Linked DNA regions of Homo sapiens: region 1 is linked to region 2. The links are contacts of gene promoters, found by promoter capture Hi-C in blood cells and fetal thymus (Javierre and others, 2016). All regions are on one chromosome and are shown on one strand. The core of a region is centred on a gene start or on the middle of the fragment in contact, and the rest is flanking DNA. Distances in the headings are between cores, read along the strand shown.

Evidence for each region. Contacts are between HindIII fragments. The CHiCAGO score rates a contact against its expected background, and 5 or more counts as called.
Region 1: a fragment that was not itself captured here is called in contact with the fragment with the promoter of FAM89A in region 2 in 1 of 17 cell types (erythroblasts); the score reaches 6.4 in erythroblasts.

Annotation. Positions count from the first base shown.
Region 1 is chr1:231,154,627-231,160,681 of GRCh38, reverse strand. No RefSeq gene overlaps it. Among named protein-coding and RNA genes, the nearest start is that of TRIM67, 4.4 kb to the left of the region's middle. The HindIII fragment of the contact is 2,913 bases long and covers 3,325-6,055 here.
Region 2 is chr1:231,037,621-231,043,557 of GRCh38, reverse strand. FAM89A (family with sequence similarity 89 member A) reads left to right here and starts at 3,304. Exons shown (of 2, transcript NM_198552.3): 1 at 3,304-3,637. The coding sequence starts at 3,347. RefSeq lists silencers at 3,143-3,252, 3,513-3,562, 4,203-4,282 and an enhancer at 3,945-4,626. The HindIII fragment of the contact is 3,223 bases long and covers 1,699-4,921 here.

The sequences.
Region 1 (6,055 bases), core at 3,532-6,031, 120 kb before region 2:
GCCCAGGCTGGAGTGCAGTGGCGTGATCATAGCTCACTACAGCCTCGAACTCCTGGACTCAAGCAATCCTCCTACCTCAGCCTCCCAAGTAGCTGGGACTACAGGCCTGTGCCACCACGCCAGGCTCTGTTTTAAAATCCTATGAACCTTTAGTCCGGCTTTGCAGCTTGCTTCCAGTTTGTGCCAAAGTTGAAGAGTAGGCCAAGCTAAGGCCAGATAGAGCATCGCACAGCATTAAGAGACCTGACTCTACTTCCCCTCAGCTAGGGGACTTGGAACAATTATTTAACCAGGCATCAGTAGCCACAGATGGGAGATGGTAACAACCTTGTCCTCATCTGCCTTGTGTAGATAAAGCCACAATGAGCTGGATCCTGCCTGCAACTCTCAGATAAGCCTTCCAGAAATGTGCTATGGAATCTTCAGGGTCATGTCAGAAACGCAGTGTATGGGTAGGTCTGTAATTGAATGCACTTAAAGATGCATTTCTGTGACCCTAGCAAGTGCCATCATTTACGCCGGCTCAGCCCAGCCTCCTGGTGACCACAAGGGAAGTCATAACCTCTTATGGTTCTACTGTGAACAGGTCTGCCCCAAACCAGCAGCCATATGGCTGAAGTCCAGTCTCCTTTGTCATTTTCGGACCAAAACAAACTGCTTGGGGGTAGGGGTGGCCTCCTGGAGGGGTGTGTAACTCCTTTCCTGTACAGAAGGACTTACAGTTCAAGCACTCCTCCACTCAGACTGAGTGTAGTTTTGTTTTCCACGGGGAGGAGGTGATCTAGTACATCAGAATTCTACACCTATGCATTTCTCATGCACTCTTGTCACCTAAATAACAAAGAGACAGGCTCTCTAAAAGAAGAGAGGTTTATTTGGGAAAAAAGTACCGCAATGGAAAGATGCTTGCCATAGTAAACTCTGTGTGTATTCAGGGAGGTAACAGAAGACAGAGGTTTTTAAGGGAAAAAAATGAGGAAGATTGAATAATTGTTTTGAAATAATTACCCTTGGCTACAAATATCAATAACAGGGGTGATGCCAGCTCAAGGCTGGACAGGTAGTTGCTGGGCAGATGTCCTGATAGAAGTATTTTTTGGTGTAGGGTTATGATGGCCTCTCTGCAAGATTGTAGGTTTTGGAGTCTTTTGTAGTCATTTTTGTTACGAGGTATTTATGCACGAAAACTCTCCCTTCATGGCTCTGTCAGGGCTTTTTTTCTTTTTTTCTTTCTTTCTTTTTTTTTTTTTTTAACATTAGTGACTCCATTTGGATTCTGACAGCTTTCACTCTCAATCCCCACCACCTCAATTCTACAACATAAATCAGCTTATCCGTGCACTGTACTTTTGCTAAAACATTGTGCATTTGGGGGATTAGCATCCTACCACTCCTTTGTCTGAACTGAAGTTACAAAGCTGGCTTCAATGCTTCACTGTATATAATCATAATTGCTAACAATCGTCAACATTATTTATAAAAAGTCCTCTTTCTGTCTCAACTGTGCCATGAACCATATGCATATAGAGAAGTCATTTTAGTTCTCTGAACCTCTGTTTCTCCCTATTATAAACTTTGGGGATAAAATTCACTGAAATTTAAATTTCCTTCTGGGGCCGGGTGCGATGGCTCAAGCCTGTAATCCCAGCACTTTGGGAGGTCGAGGCGGCTGGATCACAAGGTCAGGAGTTCGAGACCAGCCTGACCAATATGGTGAAACCCTGTCTGTACTAAAAATACAGAAATTTGGCCAGGTGCAGTGGCTCACGCCTGTAATCCTAGCACTTTGAGAGGCCGAGGTGGGCAGATCAAGAGGTCAAGAGATCAAGACCATCCTGGCTAACACAGTGAAACCCCATCTCTACTAAAAATACAAAAAATTAGCCAGGTGTGGTGGCGGGCACCTGTAGTCCCAGCTACTCGGGAGGCTGAGACAGAAGAATGGTGTGAACCTAGGAGGTGGAGCTTGCAGTGAGCCAAGATCGCGCCACTGCACTCCACCCTGGGCGACAGAGGGAGACTCCGCCTCAAAAAACAAAACAAAACAAAACAAACAAACGAACAAAACACACAAAAATTATCCAGACATGGTGGCAGGTGCCTGTAGTCCCAGCTACTCAGGAGGCTGCGGCAGGAGAATTGCTCGAACCTGGGAGGTGGAGGTTGCAGTGAGGCAAGATGTTGCCACTGCACTCCAGCCTGGGCAACAGAGCAACACTCTGTCTCAGAAAAAAAAAAAATTCCTTCTGGTTCTACAGTCTCTGTGTATTAGCTGTTGTTGAGAATGACATATCCCTTGGCTGGATGTCGTGGCTCATGCCTGTAATCCAAGCACTCTGGAAGGCCGAGGCGGGTGGATCACTTGAGGTCAGGAGTTCAAGACCAGCTTGGCCAGCATGGCGAAACCCTGTCTCTACTAAAAATAGAAAAATTAGACAGGCATGGTGGCACAAGCTCCCAGCTACTTGGGAGGCGAAGGCACGAGAATTGCTTAACCCCAGGGGGCAGAGGTTGCAGTGAGCCAAGATTGTGCTACTGCACTCCAGCCTGGGTGACAGAGTGAGACCCTGTCTAAACAAAAAAAACAAAAAACGAATAACATAGTCCCCCCTTTAAAAAATGACACTCACAAAAAAATTTGATCCCCAAATTGAATGACATATCTATTTTTTTTCAAGTCCCTAATATATTATTAAAGGCTGGGCTGTGGGGTGGGTGAGGCAAGTAATAATATTTGCATTGTAACACTTAACAGTGTGGAATGAGAACCTTTTTTAATTTTCAGAACATCTCTGGGAATTAGGCATCACCACATTTCCTCAATTTTAATATGTATAAATGTTTACATTTTAATGTTGCTGAAATTAAAAAGTATACTACAATTGATACATACTTCTGCTCTCCCTACTGTTGCTTTGAAAATTTCCTATTAAATTGATGGTGCATCTTATCATCACTTGGCCTCATGGAAAGTACATTAGTAATTAAAACTCCACAATCTACTGCTATCAAGGCAGAGAAAAACAGACTCTGCCATGAGTTACTTTGGATAATGTACTGCAGGATGGTTTTTACACTTAAGTGTCCCAGAAACACTCAAGAGGCTGAGTAATGTAACCTCTCCTCAAAAAAAAAAAAAGCACAAATCAGTTAAATAATTTACTCCAGCTAACACAGCAAGTTAGAAGTAAATCATCTGCATTCCTTTCAGAATGCTTCGAATTTCAAGCATGAAGCAGAATGGAATTGAAGGCTTTATCAGCTAAAATCAGATGCTGTAATCTCAAGTGTAAGAATCTCTAAAACAAATTTTAAATGAAAGCTTATGATATTTTTTCTTTTAGTTTTTTGGGTTTTTTTTTTTAACAGTTTAGGGTGAATTCAGGAAATTCAATAGAAATCTACAGACCAGAAGCCATCTGGTCTAAAGTAGTTTGCATTTAACTCAAAGAAAGTGACCATATCCACATCTAGGCATAGTGTACCAAAGCGTCTCTGCAGCAAAGTTAATGAGGAACAATTATCACTAACAACATAAAGCACTCTCCCCAGGGTGTGTAATTGGCTTCTTTTCCAGAAAACAATTTCTATTGAGTAATCTTAAAATCTAGCCATTTTTCCCTTCAAACATCCTTGATTGGTGCTTAACAACCTTGTTTTAATTTCTGAATACCAAATGATGACCACCCCCTTCTAATTCCGAGACTCATCTTCTGTACGGATCAGGTGATCTGGTCTTAGAAAGCCTGCTTTTGCCTCACTGCATCTTTTGCAAGCAAAAGAGTTTAGAATCAAATCCCAGATGAAGAAAATTGATTTCAATTTAGAGGATTCTTTATATACCCAGGGTATCTTTGTAATGCATGAAAACTAATACTATTACCACAAAAGCAATTTTTGGCACTTCCCTCTGGTTACATATTTCAGCTATAAGAATTGCAGTAGTACTGTACACTTTCATGACACCCCTTCACATATTTTATTTTATTTATTTCAGACAAGGTCTCGCTTCATCGCCAAGGCTGGAGTGCAGTGTTGTGATTATGGCTCACTGCAGCCTTGAACTCTTGGGCTCAAAGGATCTTCCTGTCTCAGCCTCTAGAGTAGCTAGGACTACAGGTGCATGCCAGCATACACAGCCAATTTTTCTTTTTTTAAACATGTTTTGTAGAGATGGGGTCTTACTACATTGCTGAGGCTGGTCTTGAATTCCTGGCCTCAAGCAATCCTCCCACCTTGACCTCCTAAAGTGCTGGGATCATAGATGTGAGCCACTGTGCCTGGCCCCATTATTTAATTTAATCCTCACAGCAACGTGGGTTGGCCTGGGAGATGATGAAAATGAAGAAAGGACCCTGACCCACATAGTAGGTTTCTACTAGCCGTGCTAATACAACTTGATCCCAAATCTAGGCACAATTGTTTAGTTCATGGGTGGGCAACTGACTAGGCTGAGCCAGTCAGAATCTTTTCTTCCTGAAATGTAGAATTGGAAACCAGAGAAAGAATCTGGATGGGCCTCTAATACAGATGTTAAGGAACTGTTGTGGTCCTGAAAAAGAAAAAAAAAAAGAAAAAGAAAAAGAAACAGAGAGTGAAGAATAAAGCAGAAAAGCAGAAAAAGAAGAGAAGACCCCTCCTGAGGTCTCACAACAGCTCATGTTTCTGAGACTTGGCAACATTCATGAATAAAACTCCCTTCTACCCTCAGGAAAAATGTAATTTCCCTTCCTTATTTTTCTTCCTTTCTTTCTCTCTTTCTTCGCCCCCCCCCAACCCCCCCACCCTTCCACCCTCTTTCTATTCCAAAACTAGCTGGGGAGATGAGGGGGTACTTCAGAAGGATAAGATTGGTTAACCCATTGGCCTATTCAAACAATTAGGGGAACACCCTTATTTAGTTTGACACTTTAGTCACCTCTGTTGGGACATTGAAATATTTCTTCTCCCCAGCTTCTCTTTATTGAATTCTGACCTTGACTCTTTATTGGTTTTGCCCTTGTCATTCTCGGATGCTATTTTCTCCTCATAGCTTGACCATTTCAGTCCATTAAGCTCCGTTTGCTCTCATCCTAACCACCCACTCTAATGAGCCATTTGCTTCCCTTCCTTGGGCTCCTGCTTCCTCTCCCTGACCACAGCGAGAGCCATGGCTCCATGATGCCTTTGTTCTCTCCACTCAATATTCTCTTGAACAGGAAATCAATGTTAGATTGCACTTGATGGTGCATGTAACTCCAACGGCCTCTCATATTAAGACAAAGAGCAAAAACCCTCGAGGTTTGTAAACTGTGGAGTGCTATACTGGGGATAACAAGTTACTTGTTACTTGGTGAGTATAAGAGAGATCAGAGCACAAGTTGTGGAACAGGGCATGAAAAGTGCTTTCAAACTCTGATAGCCTTATTCAGCCATTTCCTCTGTAAGGCTCTACCACCAGGGAAAAAATGCTCATGCCACAAGACAGGGCACCTTTCACATGGCAACGTGCTATAAACCACTGAGAACCATGTCACCATTCAATTCACTAGGCTGCAGTGTTACTTATAATGTGGAAATTACTATTCAAGTGCAATGACTGCAGTTTCCTAACAGCAACCAGCAACCACATTTGACTGATTTCTACATAAGCAGCCCTTAGGTTTGGTAGCAACTTGACAGACCTCCTGAGTTCTGCATGGCGGTTGGGAGTGTTGGCTTGGAAGCCAGACCACATAGGTTAGAATCCTGGCTCTACTGCTTACTAGCTGAGAAAACTTTGGCAAGATGCTTCACCTCTCAGCCACTTGAATTTCTCATCTGTAAAACTGAGATAATAAAGGTACATACCTTAAAGAGCTGGGACTACCCAATAAAATAACACACGTAAAACATTTAGAAAAGTCAATGTATAGTGCTCAACAAACATTAGATGTTGTTACTTTTTAAATTTTCTGCCCCTTGGCCTCATAATACAGGACATGGTTACCGTTGAATGGCTGATTCTCAACAGATACTTGTGAATAGGTGAACTGCAAGCAGACTGTTTTGGCTGGAGTGTCAGGCTGTATTTGAG
Region 2 (5,937 bases), core at 2,055-4,554:
CATGTGGTGGTATTGAAGTGAGATCTTTGGGAGGTGTCTAGGTCATGAAGGTGAAGCCCTTGTAAATGGAATCAGTGCCCTTGTAAAAGAGGCTTGAGGGCGCTCCCTGGCCCCTTCTGCAATGTGAGGACACCCAGAAGGTGAAATCTATGAGGAATGAGCTCTCAGCACACACGTCAGCTGGTGCCTTGATCTTGGACTTCCAGCCTCCAAAACTGTGAGCAATACATTTCTGTTCTTTACACATTATCCAGTCTCAGGTATTTTGTTATAGCAGCCTAAATGGACTAAGGTAATGTTTCAGTGGCTTAATGCAAAAAAACACACTGTCAGAAGTTATTTACTACTTCTCTCTCATTATAAGCATGAACTTTAAAAGGTACTTTATATTGGCATTTGAATAAACAGACACTAACATTCCCCAAGGATGTCAAAATATTTGTTATATAATAGTTTCAGGCTTGTACAAATAATGTCTTCACCAGCACCACAGAAATTCTGTAGAAACTTCTCCTTACCCTGGGATATTATTTGTTGATACTGATTTCAATACTCTTACCTCACTGAGTATAGGCCAGAACGCAGAGCCTGCCTTTAAAATGTTAAGGTTGGCCTGGCGTGGTGGCTCATGCCTGTAATCCCAGCACTTTGGGAGGCTGAGGTGGGTAGATCGTGAGGTCAGGAGTTCAAGACCAGCCTGGCCAAGATGGTGATGGGTATGGTGGCGGGTGCCTGTAATCCCAGCTACTTGGGAGGCTGAGGCGGAGAATTGCTTGAACCCGAGAGGTGGAGGTTGCAGTGAGCCAAGATCGCGCCACTGCACTCCAGCTTGGGCGACAGAGTGAGACTCCATCTCAAAAAAGAAAAAAAAAATTGGTAAGGTTGGCATTGTCTAAGTTGTGCCTCTTTTCTCGAGTCCTGACACCACGGACCTCATGCTGCTGTCTAGCTGACCCTAACCTCCTTTTCCTTCTGTAATCCGTAATTCTCTGAAGTATGTGCTTTAAAATGCTTTCAGTGCCCCGATACTTCAAAGTGATTTCTTTTCTTATTTCACCATCACATAGCTGAATCTCCTATCACCTACCTTGAGTGATTTCTGCTAGGTACTACAGGTGAGACTGCATTGTAACCAGTGAAATTAAAGAAATTCATGCAGGCTGGGCGCGATGGCTCACACCTGTAATCCCAGCACTTTGGGAGGCCGAGGTGGGTGGATCACCTGAGGTCAGGAGTTCGAGACCAGCCTGGCCAACATCGTGAAACCCCATTTCTACTAAAAATACAAAAATTAGTCGGGCGTCGTGGCACATGCCTGTAATTCCAGCTACTTGGGAGGCAGAGACAGGAGAATTGCTTGACCCAGGAGGCAGAGGTTGCAGTGAGCTGAGATCACGCCACTGCACTCTAGCTTGAGTGATAGACTGTCTCATAAAAAAAAAAAAATTCATGCTAAGGTGTGAACCGAATGTCAAAATGCTTCCCACCCCTTCCTCTCCCTTACTCCCACACAGGCAGACTGGTCACTCTCCTGAAGACACCCACCGTTTACATAAGTGAATGAATAAATACCTGACATCCAGAAATGTGACTAGGTAATTAGTAGAAGGTGAGGCACAGTGAAGAGGCGGAAAATTCTGGGCAGTGGGTGGGGTGGGAAGCCTGGGTGCTGTCAATCACACCGCCTGCACTAAAGCTTCTTCATATCAGTCTCACCCACTTGCAACCGTCCAGGGAGAATATTGTGCCAATTTCAAAGACACTGCTTCTGGGGTGGGCTCTAGGAGGTGGTAAAGGGTATAAAACAACCCAAAGTGCAGGGCTCTTTTATGTTGGGTGTCTGAAGTGCTCAGAACACTTTATAATTTTGATCCCCTTGAATGTAGCTAGAAAATTAAATCCCTTTATAATTAAAGCCAATAATGAATGGGCATTAAAGTTATCCAATCTATACACTGCATTAGTTTTTAATCTGCGGTTGGGCTGTAGCGTTTACTTCTTGATCTTTTCTATCTCTAATCTGGTTATAACTGCCTGTCATTTTTACTTTTCCTGGGAGGGGCAGAGTCTCTCTCTCTCTTCTCTTTTCCTCTGAGGTGTGCGTCGTGTTTATTTTTGCCTGAGCTGATGGATAATTTCCGAGATTTAATCCCTTTCTCTGGTTTCCTGACATTTCCACTTAGAGTTACTCTTGTGTTTATGGCCAGAATGAAAGGCATGTTTACTAGTGTTTTGAAGTTTCAAAAGTGGGTCTGGCGTTCTTGCTGACTGCTGCGGGTACTGCTGGACAAGGCCGTGCTGAGAAGGCCAGCGCGCCCGGCGGCAAGGAGCGACCTGCCCGGGTCTGGGGCCCCCAGCCGCCCCCCGCGGCGAGTGGGAGGCAGCAGGAGGCGGGCTGGATTCCGCCCTCGGGGAGGGCCGGGGGTCCTGGGACCAGAGCCAGGCCTCCTGCCCTCGACGTCCTGCCGGTTGTGAGCCAGAGCCTCGGTACCCCCACCCCCTGCAACGGCCTGCTTCGTGGGATCTGAAGCTGGGCCGCCCCCTGGGCAGGGCAGGGATCGGTGAGGCAAGGAGCTGAGGAGCGCTGGCAGGTAAGGGGGAAGTCTGGAGCCGGGTTGGAGGTGAGCGGGCGTTGAGGGGTGGGACAGAGGGAGTGGAGACGGGGCTGGGGGCGAGCCAGTGAACTGGGGGTGGCACAGAGGAGGTGGGAGCAGAGATGGGGGTGATCCGGAAGCCTGGGGTGGGGGGTGAGTGGGTTCGGAGCTGAGGGTGAGCCAGTGAGCTGAGGGTGGCACAGAGGGCGTGGGGGCGGAACTGGGGGTGAGCCGGGAAGCTGGGGGTTGGCACAGAGGAGGTGGGGACAGAGATGCGGGTGAGCCGGGAAGCTGGGGTTCGGGGTGGCGCGGGTGAGAGGGTTCGGAGCTAGGGGTGAGCCGGGAAGCTGGGAGGTGGTTCAGAGGAGGTGGGGACAGAGATGGGGGTGAACCGGGAAGCTGCGGGTCGCGGGGGGCTTAGTAGGTTCGGAGCTAGGGAGTGGCACAGAAGGGTTCGTGACGGGGCTGGAGGTGAGTCGGGGGGTTAGAGGGTAGTCACGCGGAGTTGGAGATGAATTAGGGCGCTGGAGGGGCGCGAGGGAGGAGGAGACCCGGGTGGAGGCGAGCCCGGCTGCTGGACGCGGACGCCACCCGGACCCGGGGCCCGCGCAGGGGCCTCGAGGAGAGGGGGCGGGGCCGGGGGGGCGTGGCGCGGGAGGGGAAGTGGGCGGGGCACCGCCGGGAAGGGGGCGGGCCGGGGGAAAGCCTTGGTTCGCTGCAGCGGGGCAGGCGCGTGGCCGGGCCGCGGCGCGATGAGTGGGGCCCGGGCGGCGCCCGGGGCCGCGGGCAACGGCGCGGTCCGGGGGCTGCGGGTGGACGGGCTGCCCCCGCTGCCAAAGAGCTTGAGCGGGCTGCTGCACTCGGCGTCGGGCGGCGGCGCGTCTGGGGGCTGGCGGCACCTGGAGCGGCTGTACGCGCAGAAGTCGCGCATCCAGGACGAGCTGAGCCGCGGGGGCCCGGGCGGCGGCGGGGCCCGGGCGGCAGCGCTGCCCGCCAAGCCTCCCAACCTGGACGCCGCTCTGGCGCTGCTCCGCAAAGAGATGGTGAGTGGGGCTCCGCGAGCTGGGGCTCTTCCCGGCCGGGCTCGCCGTCCCGGGAAAGTTCGCGGGGACCGCGCTCTGTCCGGAAGTCCCCGCGCCCACCCGCCCTTTCGGGCTCCTCCGCCCCAGGCGCCGGCGCCGTCCTCCCAACGACCCCCATTTTTCTCGCGTGCTCCGTGCCCACGATTGGAACCCCCGCGGGAGAGCCCCGCGCGCAGAGGGCGGCTTTCTTATGCCCGGCGCCCTCAGTCCGGCCCCGCTGGCTCGGAAACCTGGGCGCCCGGAAGCGCTGTGCGGGGTTCGTGCCTGGCCTGGGGGCGGGGGCGGCCTTGTCACCTCTCCCCGAGTGAAACAGACCTTCCCGGTGGGGGAAAGGCTTTCACAGCGGCCCAACGGATTAACGCGATTGCGTTTTCCTACCACGAAGAGGACAACTTTTGTCCGCCGCCAGTGTAGACAGCAGATTGGAACAGCCCGGCCCCCTTTCCGGCGCCCCAGGCCGCGCGTCCGTGATCCGATTACCGCGGGATGGCCCCGGCGCACAGATGGCTGCGAAAGCAGACGCGCACCCCGGGCGAGGGAGGCGGCCGGGTCCCTCAGCCCCGCGAAGCTGATTGCCCAAACCCTCTTGAGAAAGGTGGGAGGTGGCTGTCCTCCCGGTCTGGGTGCTGTCCATGTGAGTTCTTCGCCTTGTGTCTAAGCTCCATACCATGGGCTCAGTGTTTCTCTGTGCTTGGGAAGTACATTAGCTGTTTGTGGACCAGAACACACATGATTTAGGGTGACGCTAAAAGTAGGACAAGGGCAGGGATTTAGGCAACAGCGAGTCTTTCCCCAGCTTTCTCGGCCAGGCGTAGGCCAGGCAAGAAGAAATCAAAAACTTTTCCTCTTTTCTACCATCTTACTGGCCCCCATCACCTCCTCCCAATCCCCTCGTTTTAAAAGCCTCCCTTTCCATTCACCTCGTCCAGGTTGTCTCCTTTCCCTATAGGTAAATTGTTAAGAAATCTAACATTAGGAAAGCTGCCTTTTCCCAAAACTAAATTTGCCAAAAAATAAATTGTTATAGGAATCTTTTAAATATGTATCTAGTGCATTTAAGATATTGTTTAGAAAAATTCAGGGTATGCATACTTTTTTTTCAGGAGCATTATCTGTTCTGAAAACTAAGACTTAATTGAATTCAGAAAGCAGCCTTAACACTTTTAATCAAAGAGATATTGTCTTCCTACTCTGTAGCTGGCATTGAAGTGATTTCCAATTCTCACTGAAAAGATTTTCTAAGCTTCTTACAGAACCACTTAAATTCCAAGCCAACCGTTTTTAATTTATTAAAAAACATTCATTGACATAAGCATCACACAGCTGGTGAACTGCATTTTAATTAGATAAATCTACACGTAGTGTGTTTACAGTCTGAACTTGGACATAGCAGAACCACGGGGGTGAAGTAGGAAGATCATCTTTGATTATTTAAATTCCATACTTGAGCAAGAGATAGAAAAACCTCGGGGCCGCTCCTGTTGTGAAGCTGTGGTTTATAAACATGCTCTGGAGTCTTGCTATGGTGGCTTGGGAGTCAACGTGCCATTCCCAGAAGTATTTTTCCAGGTCCCTCCTGGTGTGACTGAAGCACAACCACATCCGTATAATTACGCCTTGGACCAGAGCTCTCTGTAAGCCTATTTGAAGCACAAGAAAAATAAACAGCCATCTTTGGTCTGCCTGGTATTTAGCTGAGATAAAGATAAGATATGGCTGCAGGTTTTGACAAGTTCCTTTCAAGAAATGTCACAAGGCCTTTAAAGTTGCCCAGAGAATCTTTCGGCTTTTTAATTGATTTACTGACTTGGGGCCATGGGGTCTGAGTGGACAACTCAAGCTGAGACTCCCTCTGGGGAGGCCTTGCAAAACAAGAACTGGGAGTTCATTCCTGAGATATCTGCAAAATAGTTTGTGTTGATCTGTTTAAATTGAAGGCCTGACGTCAAATCTGTGGCAGGGGACATAACTAGATGTCATGGTAGAATGTGATAAATGCCTTAAAGAAATTTTTTTTTTTAAAGCAAGCATAGAAAGAGGGGCAACTTCTAATAGGGACAGGGAGCAGGGTGGTGTGGAAGACCTCAGAAGGCGACAGAATTTCGACAAGGGAAAGAGGCACCAGGAAGGTAGCTGCGGAGCTGGAACTGGGAGTGCGCCAGTTTGAAATGTGAGCAAGAAGGGCCTGGGCAGGTGGACCGAGTGGACTCTGAGAAGCCTGAGTAGCAAGGATGGGCATTCAGCAGGAGAATGGTATTATC